Linked DNA regions of Homo sapiens: region 1 is linked to region 2. Evidence: promoter capture Hi-C in 16 types of primary human blood cells and fetal thymus (Javierre and others, 2016). All regions are on one chromosome and are shown on one strand. Each heading gives the region's core, a stretch centred on a gene start or on the middle of the fragment in contact. The rest is flanking DNA. Distances are from core to core; before and after follow the strand shown.

What was found. Contacts are between HindIII fragments. The CHiCAGO score rates a contact against its expected background, and 5 or more counts as called.
Region 1: a fragment that was not itself captured here is called in contact with the fragment with the promoter of PTX4 in region 2 in 1 of 17 cell types (endothelial precursors); the score reaches 5.4 in endothelial precursors.

The regions. Positions count from the first base shown.
Region 1 is chr16:1,667,526-1,673,341 of GRCh38, forward strand. It overlaps CRAMP1 (cramped chromatin regulator 1), which reads left to right. Exons shown (of 21, transcript NM_020825.4): 18 at 437-668; 19 at 1,476-1,640; 20 at 3,139-3,284. Among named protein-coding and RNA genes, the nearest start is that of JPT2, 7.8 kb to the right of the region's middle. The HindIII fragment of the contact is 1,295 bases long and covers 1,846-3,140 here.
Region 2 is chr16:1,485,450-1,491,003 of GRCh38, forward strand. It overlaps PTX4 (pentraxin 4), which reads right to left and starts at 3,495. Exons shown (of 3, transcript NM_001328608.2): 1 at 3,320-3,495; 2 at 1,867-2,521; 3 at 437-1,130. The coding sequence starts at 3,460. The coding sequence ends at 490. The HindIII fragment of the contact is 1,633 bases long and covers 2,046-3,678 here.

The DNA.
Region 1 (5,816 bases), core at 1,243-3,742, 180 kb after region 2:
TTCTTCCACCTGCTGTGCCGACTGCCCAGGGTGGATAAATGAATATGGCTGTCCGCCACCTCAGACTTCCCTCCTCCCCTCTCCAAGGTGGGCTGTTTCAGACCCAGCTCTGGAAGAACTTAGCGCTCTGGAAGAACTCAGCTTTCTGGGAGGAGGAGGCTGTCAGCTAGTAACTCCCCCAGCCCCCACTCTCTTTCTGGCAGCAGTCAAAGCAGGTCCAGGCCACTGCAGCCTGACTTTCTGACTCTGCCATAGTGAGTGTTTTTGGGAGAAATAAATTCCCCGAGTGTGTTCCTGAGTTGGAAGGATGAGGTGACTGCAGCGCTCATCACCCTATTGATTTGCCTGCAAGCTAGGAGAGTAAGCTGGTGTTTCTTCCCTTGTCATGGGTTCTGATAGACCTGGTTGTGTCTGAAAAATACCTGTCTCCCAGCAGGGCTCATCTGTTCTCTCCTTATCTGAGCTGCCCAAGGCCCCTCTCCAGAATGGCCTCTCCATACCGCTGTCCTCGTCAGAGAGCTCCAGCACCCGGCTGTCTCCACCAGACGTCTCTGCTCTGCTCGACATCTCCCTGCCCGGCCCACCTGAGGATGCGCTGTCACAGGGCGAGCCTGCCACACACATTAGCGACTCCATCATTGAGATCGCCATCAGCTCCGGTCAGTACGGTAAGGGCAGGGCGGCCTCACAGCCCTTCCTGTCATCAGGTGTTGATCTCCTGCCCCAATGTTTGCCACACTTCCTGGGGATATTCCAGTTTTGTGATTTTTACGAATTGAAAACCTGTCACCTACAAGGTGCTGCCTGTCTCCAGCAGGGACCTTGCAGGTGGATAAGGTACCTGTGGGACCTGAGGCAGCTGATGGCCTGGTAGGCTTGCTCCTGACCTTCAGGCGAGACAGTGGAATGGCCCCCAGGTGCTCTTCAGCCTGGGGATCACAGAGTGTTTTCCTAGTTGATCTTGAACCTGAGCAGGCGGCCTGGGGTCTTGCACAGCTTGTGAAGCAGTTGGGCTGGGCCCTGTGGGCTTTGGTCTCACCTGCTGTCTGGGACAAAGCTCCTGGGGGCAGTGGTTTGTTGTTCACTGGCGCGACCCAGGCTGTGGGCTGAGAGAGATATGAGTTCACAGTGTGCTAGCATGTAGCCTTGGGCAGCTCACCACCTTGCTGAGCCTCCCTTTCCTAAGCGGTAAATTGAGAATAAGGTACAGCTCCTAGGGCTGCTGTGGGTGCCGTGAGATGACTCATGTGCAACCCGTGGTGGCTACTGCCGTCGCCTTCACTCCGCTGCGCCCTGCCTCCCTGCAGAGCTGTTCTGCGGTGCTGCGCTCCTTACCTGCCGAGCCATGCCATCCATCTGGTTCAGCAGGGTAGAGCCCTGCGGCCCTGCTGCCTTCTCCGTGGTGGGCTGGAGAAGTGAGTTGCTGTTCACCACCCCGCAACAAGGCGTTTCTGATCTGGGATCTTGGTTGGCAGGTGAAGGAGTCCCTCTTTCTCCAGCAAAACTGAATGGCAGTGACAGTTCCAAGAGCCTTCCCTCCCCGTCCAGCAGCCCCCAGCCACACTGGATCGCCTCTCCCACCCACGACCCCCAGTGGTACCCCAGTGACTCCACCGACTCCTCGCTCAGCAGCCTGTTTGGTGAGTGTATGGGGAGGGCTCCCATCTCCTTTTCCAGGGCAGCAGGGGCTGGGGTCTGCGGGACACTGGATTCTCATTCTACTCAAACTCCCACTAGGACTGTTGGCTTGTTCGCTTCTCAAGTGTTTGTATTTTTCTGAGTTAATATTTTTGGGTGTAATTTACATGTAGGAAAATGTACACATTTTTAGTGTACAGTTCACCAAGCTTTGGCAAGCATGTATAGCCTGGTAACCCACAAGCCAATGGAGACCTAGAACATTCCCGTGACCCCAGATGCTGGGTTCTGTGTGCCTTCCCAGTCTGTTCAGCTAGCCCGGCCCCTCCCGACTGGGTTCTCTTGAGGGGAGAAAAGGAAACTGGTGTCTTGGCACTCTCTTGGCTCTTCTCTTTCTGTGGTCAGTAAGGTATTCAGAAGTGGATGGTCCAGCTGCCACCTGGCACATTCTTGAATATAGATCGGAGAGTTCAGAGGACGTGTCCATCCTCCTCCCCCACTGCCCGTTTGCCCACTGGGTAGCAAGTGTGGCAGGAAGGGGGTGTATCAGGGAAAGGCACACCCTGCTGCTGTTGCCTGCCCAGAGAGAGCTCCCATTTGGATGTCTGGGGTCTTCCCGCCCACAGTTGTACGGGGCCAGGGCTTGTGGCTGGGCACATCAGGCATGGCGGGTACCATGCCTGACAGCTCTGAACCAGTTGGGCGACCTGGGTCTGGGAGGTGCTGAGGGACCCAGCACCCTGCAGGCGTTTCCTTTTGTCTCATGTAGCAGTGCAGATGTTTGGAAAGTCACACGTAAATCTTGAAAAACTGGAAACAGGCCAGGCGTGGTGGCTCATGTCTGTAATCCCAGCACTTTGGGAGGCCAAGGTAGGAGGACTGCTTGAGGCCAGGAGTTTGAGACCAGCCTTGGCAGCATAGAGAGACCTTGTCTCTACAGAAAATTTTAAAACTAGCCAGGTGTGGGGGGTGCATGCCTGTAGTCCCAGCAACTCGGGAGGCTGAGGTGGGAGGATTGCTTGAGCCTAGGAATTCGAGGCTGCAGTGAGCCATGATCACCACTGCACTGCAGCCTGGGCAAGAGCGAGACCCTGCCTTTAAAAAAAATTAAAAGCAAAGTTGGAAACAACCTGCATGAGACTAGTCACAGAGAAGAAAGTATGGGGGTGGGGATGGCAGTGAGGGTGGGAGAGCATGATGGGGGTGGGGGATGGCAGCGAGGGTGGGAGACCGTGATGGGGGTGGGGGATGGCAGTGAGGGTGGGAGACCGTGGGACTCGTGGAAAACAAGGTGCATGTCTGTATGCACGAAGGCCTGTTAAACGAGAAGAGCTCGTCACGGCGTGTTGAGTCCCTCGGAAGCTCTTCGCACAAGTCTGGATTGGGGCCGGGGCCGGGGCTAGGGCTTGGGCTGGCTGCCCCCAGCCTCAGGACCCTTCCGCTGGACTGGTCCAGACCAAGCAGGGTTCAGGGTGTTTTCCTCTGGCCTTTTCTCCGCAGCAAGCTTCATCTCCCCAGAGAAGAGCCGGAAGATGTTGCCGACTCCCATTGGGACCAACAGTGGCACTTCCTTGCTTGGCCCCAGCTTGTTGGATGGAAACTCGCGGGACTCATTTGTGTCCAGGTCCCTGGCTGACGTTGCAGAGGTGAGTGCATTGACCTCACAGCTGCACCTGACCACCAACCCTCGTGCCAGAGGTTGCCAGCACTCTCCTGCACACCTGTGGGTTAGTAAGAGCTGTTTGCCAAGAGTAGAAGAACAGGAGACAGCACGTCCACACTCAGGTCCCTGACTACTGAGAATGGAGAGATCTGGGGACGCTGGGCCGGCTCTCGTCCCCACATGCAGAATGACAGACTTAGTCATAGCTGAGCTCTGCAGGCCTCTGAACTGGAAACCCTGGTCTGGGGCGCAGAGCAGGGTCTCTGAAGGCAGCCAGAGCCGAGTGGGGATGTTACCTCTCCTTCCCTGGCTGTGAGGTGCTGAGGTGCGGGGAGTGTTGTGGAGGGAGGAGTAAGGGGTGGTGGCAGCAGTTGTGTTGTCAGTGCTCCCATCCTAACAGCAGGACCTTTGAGTGGCATCTCCCTGTCATGTTGAGCTGCGGTGCAGGGGAACTGGGATGGGCTCTGCTGTCCTCATGCTTCTCCCACGCCCAGGGTAGTGATAGGAGGAGTCACTGGGGCAGGTTCTTGAGGGGAAGGCGAAACGTGGTTTGTGACTCTCCACTTTTGACGAGATGCAGCGTCCCTCTTTGTTGGCCAGGCCATCTGGTTGTAGCCCTCAAGGCGTCCACCACATGGTTTGTGTGGCATTCGTGGGCAGGTCAGGCTTGCAGGGTGAAGACAGGCCCGTTTCACTGTGACGTAAAGTGCAGAGTGGCAGGTGTGTGGGCAGTCGGGTGAGGGCTCTATGGACAGGGAGGGAACTCCAGGTCCAGGAGATCATCCGCATGGGCTTAGCCCATGTGAAAGTCCTGGAGCAGCATTCCCCGAATCTAGTCCCCACAATGTTGAGACATTGGCAGGTGTTCCTTGAGGATTTTGTGGGTAGATACTTGAGGGACACCCTGGATCCAAAAAAGCTCAAAACAGCTGTTTCTCACGGACACCTCCGCTACCCAGTATCCGAATGTGAATCGTGACTCTTGAGATGATGAACTCATGGGCAGGCTTTGGAGAATTCCAAGCCAAGCCATGATATGACTGGAAATTTTAGCCAAATATACACATAGACACAATTAATAGCGTAGACCTCCATCTCACAGTGTGTGGCGTTTCTCAAACCTGTTTGGCCCCAGAATCATTATTCAGGGCACACCTTGGACTCTGATGTTTCCCGAGAAGCCAGTCTCTGTCTCTTCCCCTGTTTGTGCGCATGTTCCTAAGTGCTGGGCTCTGTGGAGATGGGCGCTGCGTACGTGCCCTGAGGCAGCATGCTCACGCCATGCTGTTGAAAGGACGGGCCACAGCCCAGTGACAGGAGCCCCTTGGAGTCAGAAATCCAGAGTGTTAGCCTCACCCCAATCAGAATTTGCACCTTTAATAAAATCCTGGGCAACAGATGGCACTTGGGAGTGAGTAGCAGAGAAAGGGTGCAGTTAGTATTTGTGAAACGCTGCCCGTCGCGAGTAATGCAAACGTGTTCACCTTCAGAAAGAGCAGATCAGCGTTTAGCATGAGATTTTCCCGAGAGCCCTCCACTCAGAACGTGAGTATGTTTCTCAGCAGGTCCTCGTCATCTGGAAGGATGGGCTGAGGCATTTGTGGATGAAAGGGTCTGGTGGTAGGGCTAGCATGAAGGGGGCGGGGGTGGAGCTGGGTGGCCCTGGGATGAAACGGGTGGGAGCTGCTGATGGACATACAGGGGAAGGAGAATTACTCTTTGCTCTGCTTTTGAAAACAAATTTTAATTTGTCTGACATTTCCCATAATCAAAGCATAAAATTTCATTTACGCCATAGCTCTATTCAGAATTTTCCAGACTTCTTGCATTCACAGTGTCATGCAGTTCATTAAGGGATATTTCTGCAGGGTCTGCTGTGTGCAAACAATGGCCCCTGTCCTCATGAGGCTTCTACTCTAGAGCAGGACGCAGACAATAAGCGCTGAAAACGGCACATTCTACGTATTTGCTCATGGGACAAGATCCCGGTGCCGAGGCCCTCCCGTCCTCCGTCTCCTCAGCTCTGTGCTGCCTCACTCACTCTGTCATGGCCACCACCTTGGTCGTGCTTTTCAGTCAAAGCCTCTTCCTGTCTCAGGGAACATGCCTGTTGCTTCTTTAAAAAGGAACGTACTCCCCATGTGTCCTCATGTCTCTGACGGGAACGTGCTCCCCACATGTCCTCAGGACTGATGGGAACGTGCCCTCACCACATGTCCTTGGGATTCTGACGGGATCGTGCCCTCCACCTGTCCTCATTTCTCTGACGGGAACGTGCCCCCAGCTCTCCTCATGTCTCTGATGGGAACGTGCCCCCAGCTGTCCTCATGTCTATGACGGGAACGTGTCCCCCACCTGTCCTCATGTCTATGATGGGAACGTGTCCCCCACCTGTCCTCATGTCTGTGATGGGAACGTGCCCCCCACCTGTCCTCATGTCTCTTGACGGGAACGTGTCCCCCACCTGTCCTCATGTCTATGACAGGAACGTGTCCCCCACCTGTCCTCATGTCTG
Region 2 (5,554 bases), core at 2,245-4,744:
TATGGTGAAAACCCCTCTCTACTAAAAATACAAAAAAATTAGCCTGGCATGGTGGCAGGCGCTATAGTCCCAGCTACTTGGGAGGCTGAGGCAGGAGAATGGTGTGAACCCGGGAGGTGGAGCTTGCAGTGAGCTGAGATCGCGCCACTGCACTCTAGCCTGCACAACAAAGTGAGACTCCGTCTCAAAAAAAAAAAAAAAAAGAAAAAAAAGAAAGGAAGACAGTGCAGGAAGTAAGAATGCCGTGGTGATGGAAGAAACATGGGCTTGCAGGCCACCCTGACCCCAGGCTCTCTCTGTCTCTGTTCGCTCCCTGTCCACCTCCCCACTCCCCAGGATGGAATAGGCACCCCTATGTGAGGGCGCAGGTGTGCAAAGCCAGGACGGGTGGGGGTGGCCTTTGTAGAATGTGCTGGCGGGGAGGGCGGTGGCGGAATGTGGATGGGGGCATGCTGCCCTTGCTGGCCTCAGCCCCCGTGCGGCTCGGCCTCAGGGACAGCGTTCCAGGCAGGTGCAGTTGGCCCCCTGCACAAATCCGCCTGCTAGTGCAGCATTGGCCAGCGTCAGGATGGCACCTGTCGGGAACTCTTTCCCGATGGCAAGGTTTGCAACTTCCCCGGGAACCAGCGCCCGATCCCAGATAGCCAAGCCAGACATGCTCCCCACGAAGGCCTCGGAGCTGTCGAATCCGCCCCCCACGCTGTCTTGTTCCTGGCCCAGCACGAGGGACCCTCCGGGGGGGATCTCATAGCCCTCCCTGAAGCGGGAGCCGGTGGCCACCAGCCTGCGATCCACGTGGAGCCAGTACCTGCCCTGGGTGGACGTCCAGATGACACAGATGTGGTGCCACTGGCCGTCCAGCAGCAGCTGCAAGGGCAGCTCCCTGAAGGCCGGGTCCCCGATCACGAAGTGGATGGATCCGGGCAGCAGGGAGTCTCGGCCGTGCAGCACCAGCTTGTTGTCATTGTCCTCGGTGGCGTAGGACAGGAGGGTGCCCAGGCGGCCGGAGGCCGTGCGGACCCAGCTGCAGAAGGACAGGGCTCGCAGGGCAGTGACGAAACCAGGGCTGAGGAAGACCACGTTCCTGGTGGAGGCGTTTGGGAAAACGAGGGTGGGGCCCACGCCGCAAACTAGAAACAGAGGAGGGAGGGTCAACCCCTTGCAGGAGGCCGAGCAGAAGCATCCAGAAGCACACGTGCTGTGGGTGCCTGGCCTCCCACTCCCGGCTGCCACCCTTCACGGAGCACTGACTCTGCGCTGGCCCTGCCGATGGCTCCCCTGCAGCGTCTCCTTCACTCTCTTGATGGGATCACCCCAGTTCCACAGGCGGGAAGACTGAACATGAGGGCCGTACTCGGGAGTGGCGGGGTCCTGCTAGGAGCCCTAGCTGTCGGCCCACCCAGCTGAGCCAGCGCCCCTCACTGCCAGGGAGTCTCTGCAAATTTCATGACTCACAACAGCGCAGGTTTAGTGTTTCACATTTCTGGCGGTCACAAGGCCAACACGGTCTCCCAGGGCTCAAATCAGGTGTGGACAGGGCTGGTTCCTCTGGAGGCTCCAGGAGAAACCATCTCCCGCCCTTTCCAGCTTCCAGAGGCGCCTGCACCCTTCGGCGTGGGGCCTCCTCGTCTGTGCATCCCGCCACCTCTGCTTCTGCCCTCACGCCCTCCTCTGACTGTGTTCCTCCTGCCTCCCCTTAGAAAGCCTCTGTGATGACGGTGGGCCACCCCCCCCGATGATCCGAGACCCTCTCCCCATCTCCCGGCCCCTAACTGAACCTCTTTTGAGAAGCCTTTTCCAGGGGGCCTGGTCTAAGGAGGAGCTGGAGGGAAGCCTGGCCGTGAGCTGGGAGCCTGTGGTACTTACTCTCTCCTGGCACCTGGGGGGACCATGCCTGCTGCCGAGGGTCTTTTGGGGCAGTCCCACTGAGTACCCGATGGCTGCCTGAGGCTGGAGGCTCCCGCCTCCCTTGGAGAGGGGCCGAGGAGTCCTGTGGGGGGCCCCTGTGCTCAGAGGCAGCTCGGAGCTCCTGCCTGTCCCTCTGAAGCTTCAGGGAGGTCGGGCCCAGCTCCTCAGGCTGGGTTGGGGTTGGGACCAGGGCCGGCCCGAGGGCTGCAGTGCCAGGGTGGGCCACGGGCAGCCGCCCCTCCAGAGCAGCCAGCCTGGCGCCCTGGCTGTGGACGAGGCCCTCCAGGCGTGCCAGTGAGTCCTGCAGGGCGTCCCTCTGGGCCTTGTGTGCCTTCCTTTCCCGGGCCCGCTGCTGGCTCCTCTCGCCCAGGGTGAGGTCCAAGGCCCGCAGCCGCGTGTCTACTTTCCGGCCTCGGCGCTGCAGCTTCCTCACCCAGGCCTTGAGCTGCGCCAGCTCCCCCTGCACCGAGGCCTGTGACCGGTTGACTGCCTGAGCCACAGCCTGGCTCTCTTCCGCCAGGCTCCGGAACCGGACGTCAACGTTGTAGGACACGTTGTAGTTGCTGGCGATGTTCTGCAGGTGTGTCCAGGTCACCTCCTGGAATCTCCGGAACTGTAAGGAGGACACGGTGATGATGGGGCGGGCCGGGCCGGGCCGGCTGGGCGGGACGGGAAAGGCTTTGCCCTCTCAAGTTGGGAGCAGCGGCCGCGTGCCCGGGCCACGGCCAGCACTGGCTATCTGCCCACCGATTTGATCCCCACTGCGATGCCGTGAGATGTGGTGGGTGCCAGGGACTGACCCCAGGCCATGCAGCTGCACCACGTGGGGTGTGGACTCCAGGCCCACAGCTGGGGCTCTGATCCCCACCGCTCACCCCATAACCACCGGCAAGTCACTTTCCCTCGTGATTCCAGCTCCTGCCTGTGAGCAGGGGACGGCAGGGTGGCCTCATGAGTGCTTTACGAGGCCCAAACAGGAAGCACCCAGCGCAGGCCCGACAGGCCCACAGCACTCCGGAACTGTCCGTGGACCCCGCGTGGGAGTCCGGGAGGCCGTTCACACCGACTGCCACAAGGTGGACCTGTGACCTCCCAGTTTCCACTCCCCATGACACTACCCGGCCCCCATGGCCCCCAGTTCCCCTGACTCCCTTCCAGACCCCCTTCTAGCCTCTGGCCCCACCTGACCCCCACATGTTATGAGGCTTGTGTCCTGTGTGAGTGGAGCCCAGCTCAGCTCTTCCCTGGTGTCCAACTGCAGGTGAAATAATCTTCATGGATGGAAAGAGCGTCACACGCGGTGTTCGTGTCCGCCAAGCCCTGATGTTTACCAATCTGCTTCTGTAACATCCGTCTTCCATCTGCTGCCAATTTAAAAACCCGACTGCGCCATGTCAGGGGTATAACTTGCCTGTTCCTCCAGCCTACGGAGCCTCTCGAAAAACGGTTTCCTGGGCCCCACTGGGGCGGCTTCCTGCGATGAAGCCCCATGTAGATATATAGGCACAAAAACAAGGAAGAAAGACAAGGTCTTCCTCCACGAGCAACCCATCCGGAGAGACGGCAAGGCCCCAGCAGTCTCCCTCCAGCCGCAGGAGAGGGTGAAGGTGGCTCCGTGGGTCTGTCTTGTGTCTCGTCCCCCCAGCTCTCCTGTTGAGTGGTTTTCCTTCTTTGGCCCTGGCTGGATGTCAGGTTCTTCCTGCCGCCTCCATGAAAGGCATCTGCCTTCAAGCCAGTGGGCTCTGAGACTTGCAGGTTCCTAAGGAGACAAGCTTAAAACAGATGCAAACAGTTTCTTTGAAGAATCATTCAGCTGGGTGCAAGCCCGCGGGCAGGAGGCGATGGCTTTAACAGGAGCACATGGACTTGTGCTCCCGAGAAGTCGAAGCAAGACAGGGAACCCGACGGGGGCTGGGGAGTCAACAGAGCCAGGTCTGCACAGGCACCCATCACCCAGGCCGTGCACGGCTGCATCCTGGGAGGCCCCGTCTCTCTCAGTAAAGCAATGGAAATGTGACTGGGAGCCACCTTAATTAATTAATTATTATTATTATTTGAGATGGAGTCTCGTTCTGTTGCCTAGGCTAGAGTGCAATGGCGCAATCTCAGCTCACTGCAACCTCTGCCTCCCCGGCTCAAGCGATTCTCCTTCCTCAGCCTCCTGCCTCCTGAGGAGCTGGGATTACAGGCGTGCTTTACCATGCCCGGCTAATTTTAGTATTTTTAGTAGAGATGGGGTTTCACTATGTTGGTCAGGCTGGTCTCAAACTTCTGACCTCATGATTTGCCTGCCTCAGCCTCCCTAAGTGTTCGGATTACAGGCATGAGCCACTGCGCCTGGCCAATTAATTAATTTTTTTGACGGAGTCTTGCTCTGTCACCCAGGCTGGAGTGCAGTGGTGCGATCTCCGCTCACCACAAGCTCCGCCTCCTGGGTTTAACGGATTCTCCTGTCTCAGCCTCCCAAGTAGCTGGGATTACAGGTATGTGCCCCCACATCCGGCTAATTTTTGTATTTTTAGTAGAGACGGGGTTTCACCATGTGGGCCAGGCTGGTCTCAAACTCCCGACCTCAGGTGATCCACCCGCTGTAGCCTCCCGAAATGCTGGGATTACAGGCATGAGCCACCGCGCCCGGCCAATTTTTGTATTTGTAGTAGAGACGGGGTTGCCCCATGTGGGCCAGGCTGGTATTTTTGGTTACAGGTTGTGTACTGGCTTGAATGAGACCCTCCTAAAAACACACATAAGCCCCAGGCAGGGCCTTATGTGGAAAAGGTCTCTGCGGATGTCATGAAGGATTTTGAGATGAGACCATCCTGGATTATCCAGGTGGCCCTAAAGCCAATGACAGGGGTACAAGAGACAGAGGAGGAGGCACAGAGGACACGGCCTGTGAAGATGGGGCAGAGACTGGGGTGACGCTGCCACGAGGAACCCCCAGAGGCCCCAGAAGCTGGAAGAGGTAAAGTGGGAACCCCCAGCCCAGAGCCTTCGAGGGAGTGTGCACCTTCACTTCAAGACTTCCAGCCCCCAGAACTGTGATAGGACTCATTTCTGTTGTTTCAAGCCGCCCAGCTCATGGGAATAAGATCATCCACAAAGTTGTCCCACTGGGGGCATCCATCATTCCCAAGGTGGCATGAGCCAAGAGGGTGCCAGGCCAGGAAACCATCGGTGGCCCCCAGGCTCCCCTTGTCAAGCGTCAGAACACCATGGACATGGAGAAGATGCAGAAAGCATCGGAGAGAACATCCTGGGCACATGGACGGGGTTGGGGCCTTAGGCCCCGGGGGACTGGCAGCCACCAGGACAGCGACGCTGGTGCCACACACAGAGCGGCGGATCTCGCAGCTTCCAACTGACAGTGAGTTCCATTTATTTATGTATTTATTTTATTTCGGTAGAGAAGGGTCTTGCTATGTTGCCAGGCTGTTCTCAAACACTCCTGGGCTCAAGCAATCCTCCCAGCTCAGCCTAGCCAAAGTGCTGGGTTTACTGGCGTGAGCCACTGAGCCTGCCTGATTTCCATTTAAAGTTGTGGGTCGGGGCAGGGTGTGGTGGCTCTCTCCTGTAATCCCAGCACTTTGTGAGGTCAAGGTGGGCAGATCACTTGAGTCCAGGAGATCGAGACCAGGCTGGGCAA